2 separate regions of the Homo sapiens genome follow, and region 1 is linked to region 2. Evidence: promoter capture Hi-C in human tissues and cell types (Jung and others, 2019). All regions are on one chromosome and are shown on one strand. Each heading gives the region's core, a stretch centred on a gene start or on the middle of the fragment in contact. The rest is flanking DNA. Distances are from core to core; before and after follow the strand shown. Region 1 overlaps UBE2R2 (ubiquitin conjugating enzyme E2 R2). Region 2 holds the start of RPP25L (ribonuclease P/MRP subunit p25 like).

Evidence for each region. The method cuts DNA at HindIII sites, captures the fragments that hold promoters and counts their contacts. A contact is called where the count stands out against the background at its distance.
Region 1: a contact is called between a fragment that was not itself captured here and the fragment with the promoter of RPP25L in region 2, in 1 of the 25 tissues and cell types used here (pancreas).

The regions. Positions count from the first base shown.
Region 1 is chr9:33,898,388-33,901,087 of GRCh38, reverse strand. UBE2R2 (ubiquitin conjugating enzyme E2 R2) reads right to left here. Exons shown (of 5, transcript NM_017811.4): 3 at 817-914. Among named protein-coding and RNA genes, the nearest start is that of SNORD121B, 35 kb to the left of the region's middle. The HindIII fragment of the contact is 5,505 bases long and covers 1-2,700 here.
Region 2 is chr9:34,610,671-34,613,370 of GRCh38, reverse strand. It overlaps RPP25L (ribonuclease P/MRP subunit p25 like), which reads left to right and starts at 1,274. Exons shown (of 2, transcript NM_148178.3): 1 at 1,274-1,307; 2 at 2,039-2,700. The coding sequence starts at 2,075. The coding sequence ends at 2,566. RefSeq lists enhancers at 473-522, 650-699, 1,803-2,356 and a silencer at 1,100-1,339. The HindIII fragment of the contact is 7,953 bases long and covers 1-2,700 here.

The DNA.
Region 1 (2,700 bases), core at 47-2,546, 710 kb after region 2:
GCTACTTGGGAGGCTGAGGTGAAAGGCTCACTTGAGCCCAGGAGGTCGAGGCTGCAGTGACCTGTGATCACACCGCTGCACACCAGTCTGGGTGACGGGAAGACACTGTCTCAAAGACAAGAGACAGAGACACAGACAGAAACAGAGAGAGAGAGAGAGACAGAGACAGAGAGAGAGAGGAGTTGCCCATGAAGACATGACTATTAAATATAATGTGATGAGCAGGGCACAGTGGCTCATGCCTATAATCCCAGCGCTTTGGGAGGCCAAGTGGGGAGGACTGCTTGAGGCCAGGAGTTTGAGACCAGCTGGGCAACTTAGTGAGACCCCATCTCTACAAAAAATTTAAATACATATATGTATACACGTACATATATAGATATATATTTATATGTATGAAATATTTTGGAGCAAAACAACGACAGGTAAAAACAAAGGAAATGTGAAAGCGTATGGACTTCAGTTACTTATAATGAATTAACATTGTTTATTAACTGCAACCAATGAATGACACTAATGTTAGGTGGTAATAAAGAACCAGAGTAGAACTAGGATAAGTTAAGAGTAGGGATTCAGGCTTGAAAATCTATTCCTAAGTGAACATAGGGAAATGAGAATCATATACATTATTGTTTAGTAAATACAGCTCTTCAAAATGACGCATACATATTTCTTAAAGCTCTAGCTAAAGACAAAGAAACTGAATATAAGAAAGATGATTTTTTACATGTTAAAAGACAATACATAATTTTATTTTACTAGGAGCAAAGACAATAAGGAGATTAAGAATAACTCCAAAACCAGATTCCTCCTTACCTCACATTCTGAGTAGGATTCCACCTTTCAGAAGGCAGTTCTCCACTCTGTGGGTCATCTACAGGCGGATGAAGAATCGAAATGCATACATCTCCATTCTACAAGACACAAACATTACATTCAGTAAATACTCAAAAAGTGATGTACAAAAAGGGACATCGGTTCTAAAGTTTCCTTTATTCCTAGAAACTGTTTCTTCATCAAAGGAGAAAACAATTCTGCTTTTTATGTTCAACATCAAAGATAAATAATAATTAAGCATTTTAAAAGTATTTATTTTGACCAATCTCCAAGGTATATTTTCTAGTGAGAAGACTTACTATTCCTATAGAACAATCCTGATGAAACAAACGATCCCTATGTTTACTTAGGAACATTAAAATATAATATTTATTTCGACCAATCTCCAAGGTATATTTTCTAGTGAGAAGACTTACTATTCCTATAGTACAATCCTGATAAAAAATTGACTGGGGCTGGGCGCGGTGTCTCACGCCTGTAATCCTAGCACTTGGGAGGCCAAGGCGGGTGGACCACCTGAGGTCAGGAGTTTGAGACCAGCATGGCGAAACCCCATCTCTACCAAAAATACAAAAATTGGCTGGGCGCGGTGGCTCACGCCTGTAATCCCAGCACTTTGGGAGACCAAGGTGGGCAGATCACAAGGTCAGGAGTTCGAGACCAGCCTGAACAACATGGTGAAACCCCGTCTCTACTAAAAATACAAAAATTAGCCGGGCGTGGTAGCACTCCCCTGTAATCCCAGCTACTCAGGAGGCTGGGGCAGGAGAATCGCTTGAACCTGGGAGGTGGGGGTTGCAGGGAGCCAAGATCGCGCCAATGCACTCCATCCTGGGCAACAGAGGGAGACTCCGTCTCAAAAAAACAAAAACAAAAGACAAAAATTAGCCGGGCGTGGTGGCACGCGCCTGTAATCCCAGCTACTCAGGAGGCTGAGGCAGGAGAATCGCTTGAACCCGGGAGGCGGAGGTTGCAGTGAGCCAAGATAGTGCTCCGGCCTGGGCAACACAATGAGACTCCATCTTAAAAAAAAAAAGACAAACATAATAAATCAAGACTCAATTGTCTTAGAAGCAGCCAAATATATATCCCTTTGTTTTCAGATATATCTGTGTACCTAGAGTACATAAAAAGGAAGAAAAAATATCTAACCTTGCTTAATATCTACTCAGATAGATGCTATGTCAATAACCATGACTTATATAAACCAAAAATATGCCTCGCAGCAAATGTTAACATCCTCAAGGTATGGTTAGAATGACTTCCCACTATGGCTATTATATTTTGCTTCATAAACTTAACACAACTTAATCCACAAGTACATTTAGGTTAATTCATACACATATGGATTGCCCACCATGTGCAATACAGAACACAATTCAATAGAAAAGATAAAGTTAGGTAAAATACAGTGACTTATCTCTTGGACTTAGCCTAACATGGAAGGTAAGATTTATTTATTTATTTAACTTCTTTCTGTCTTTAGAGATGGGAGTCTCACTATGTTACCTAGGCTGTAGTGCAGTGATTATGCATAAGACAACCATGGTGCACTGCAGCCACTAACTCCTGGCCTCAAGTGATCCTCACACCTCAGTAGTCCCATAGCTGGGACTCTAGGGTGTGCTACCACACACGACTTAAGATTTATATTTTTAAAAAACTGGAGGTATAACTATATAAAGTGCAAAAATCTTACATATACAACCCAAATTTAGACACATAGAAACTATATGAATATATATGTAACCATTATCAATATAAAATATTTTTAAAATAAAATTAATACAAAATATTATATTCTAACACACTGCCTTATGGTTAGATACCATAAGGCATGTAAAAAGTTACTACAGATAAAAG
Region 2 (2,700 bases), core at 25-2,524:
ATTTATCCCACATTTACCAATAAGAGACCTCCAAATGTCAGATGATGGGAGTAGATAGGGCTAATCCCTGCCCTGCACGGGCTAGCAGGATAGACAGTAAAGGAAAAGGGCAGTCCTATCAGGTGGACACAGAAGAAAAAAGGGACTGAAGGGACCTGGTAAGTGATATCCAGGGACTTTCAGAGCCAAGGGAGCAGCATGTGCAAAGGCCTTTAAATTTCTCTCTTGGGAGCCTACCTGCTGCCACGAGCCGAGAAGGGCAGCCTAAGAGGTTTGGATGCAGGAAGTTTTGGTCCTGGGGAGGGGAAGTTGGGAAGTAGGGGCGCTGGGGCAAGCATGTTGAGAAACAGATTGGCACCGTAGTCCACCAAATGTTTGCTGCCCCCTTGTGGTCTCAGGGAGTGCTCTGGCTCCAGACCCTTTTTCCAACGGCCCATTGGCCGCCCCGCCTTTGCGACCTCTCCGGCACCTCAAATTCAGCGTGTCCAAACCGATCTGAAACCTGGGAGTCACCCTAGATCGGAATTTCCTACTTCTCCGTCCAAACAGTGGCCAACTCGTCACTGAACCTACTAGTATCTCCCAACTTAATCTTTTTTCCATTCCCACCGCGATTTCTCTGGTTCATTAATGTAACAAATCATTTAACAAATATTGAGCGCCGGTCATACGCCAGGCACCATACTAGGCTCCGTGGGCACCCCCGCCCCCTCAGCCCCCAGACTCCGCGGCAGGTGTCGTCAGGGGCTGTGGCCCGATTTCCCCACCACTCCCTCCTCGGCTCCCTGCACAAGATCTGGTTCGACTGGCCCCTGGAAAACCCGGAAAACCCCCGTGGTCCGCCAGCGCCCACAGGATGAGGTCGAAGCTCAGAAGTCGGTAACTAAGGCTCTCGCCCATGCAACAGCAGCCACTACAAACTGAAGCCTTTGTTCGCACCCACGGTGAAACCCACAGCTCCCCGTTTGCTCAACAGCTAACGCCAGCCCTCCCATCTTCTAAGGGCCAGATCCCCCTCCTTCAGACGCAGGACTTCCCCGACGGCCGCTCCTTTCTACCGCAGGGAACTGTCCTGCCTCCCTCCGGGGCGTAACAGCGGAGGCTGCGCTCGTGTTCCCATCCCCGCTGGGACTGGTCCGGGGCGCTCTGGCCAGCGGGTTGTTTCCGCGGCGGAGATGCCTCGGGGCCCGTCCCTCACGCCCCGCCCCTCACGCCCCGCCCCCTCGGGGCGTGCGCGGCCCCGCGGCCTTAGTGCGCTCCGGGCCCGCGCGCCATCTTGGCTCCGGATCGTGCGTGAGGCGGCTTCGGTGAGAGCCGGAACCGGGCGGGCAGAGGGGCGCTCGTAGGGTTGGGGGACGCCTGTGGCTTGGCTGCAGCGGCCGGCAAGACCCTGGAAGAGACCGTGGCTATGGAAACGGCCAAGGCTGTCTTGGAATGTCCTGAGCAGCCCTCCGAGTCGAGCCTCTGCCCCCGAGTTTCTGAGTGACCTGGGTTGATATAGATTGACCTTGGTAATCTCTGGGAGAGGGGATCCGTTCTGTTTGGGGGCAGCACTGGATAAGGGTTCTTGGCTGTTTCCCGGGGGGCCTGGGGCGAAGGGCCTTGTCCCTGTCCTTGTAGAGCCCCAAGTGAGGAGCGCTCTCTATTGGTATTAGTCTGGGGTGAGGGTTCCAGGCCCTGTTCCAAGGAGCCCAGGATAAGGGGGGCTAAGCCCCAGTCCTGGAGAGTTTAGGATGAGGGGGCCTGGCACTTTCCCAAAGAGCTCAGTGTTTGGGGAATGTGATCCTGCCTCTTGGACTCCAGGATTGGAGGTGGGGGTGTTATGGCCCTTGTAGAGGAACGGGGTGTATGGGGTACAGCCCTTTCCCAGACTGCGGCAGGCATGGACCTTGTCACGAGATGCTAAGGACAAGGGGACATGATCCTGTTTCTGGGAAGTCTGGAACGGGGAGCAGGGCCATATCCTGGATGGAGATAGGGGATGGTGGACAGTGACTTGGGGCACATTGCTTAGCACTTACCTGATGCTTCCCTGCAGTGGGCAGCGAGAGTCACAGACAAGACAGCAAGCAGGATGGAGCACTACCGGAAAGCTGGCTCTGTAGAGCTCCCAGCGCCTTCCCCAATGCCCCAGCTACCTCCTGATACCCTTGAGATGCGGGTCCGAGATGGCAGCAAAATTCGCAACCTGCTGGGGTTGGCTCTGGGTCGGTTGGAGGGCGGCAGTGCTCGGCATGTAGTGTTCTCAGGTTCTGGCAGGGCTGCAGGAAAGGCTGTCAGCTGCGCTGAGATTGTCAAGCGGCGGGTCCCAGGCCTGCACCAGCTCACCAAGCTACGTTTCCTTCAGACTGAGGACAGCTGGGTCCCAGCCTCACCTGACACAGGGCTAGACCCCCTCACAGTGCGCCGCCATGTGCCTGCAGTGTGGGTGCTGCTCAGCCGGGACCCCCTGGACCCCAATGAGTGTGGTTACCAACCCCCAGGAGCACCCCCTGGCCTGGGTTCCATGCCCAGCTCCAGCTGTGGCCCTCGTTCCCGAAGAAGGGCTCGAGACACCCGATCGTGAAGACCTGCTGAGCCAGCCTGTTCTCCGGGCCTGAATGTCTGGGGTGCTTGTGCCTTTTCTGAGAAGCGTTGTGACTGCTCAACATCCCCATCAAGGTTTGAGTCCACAAAAGTGGACCTCCCTATCATGCTTCC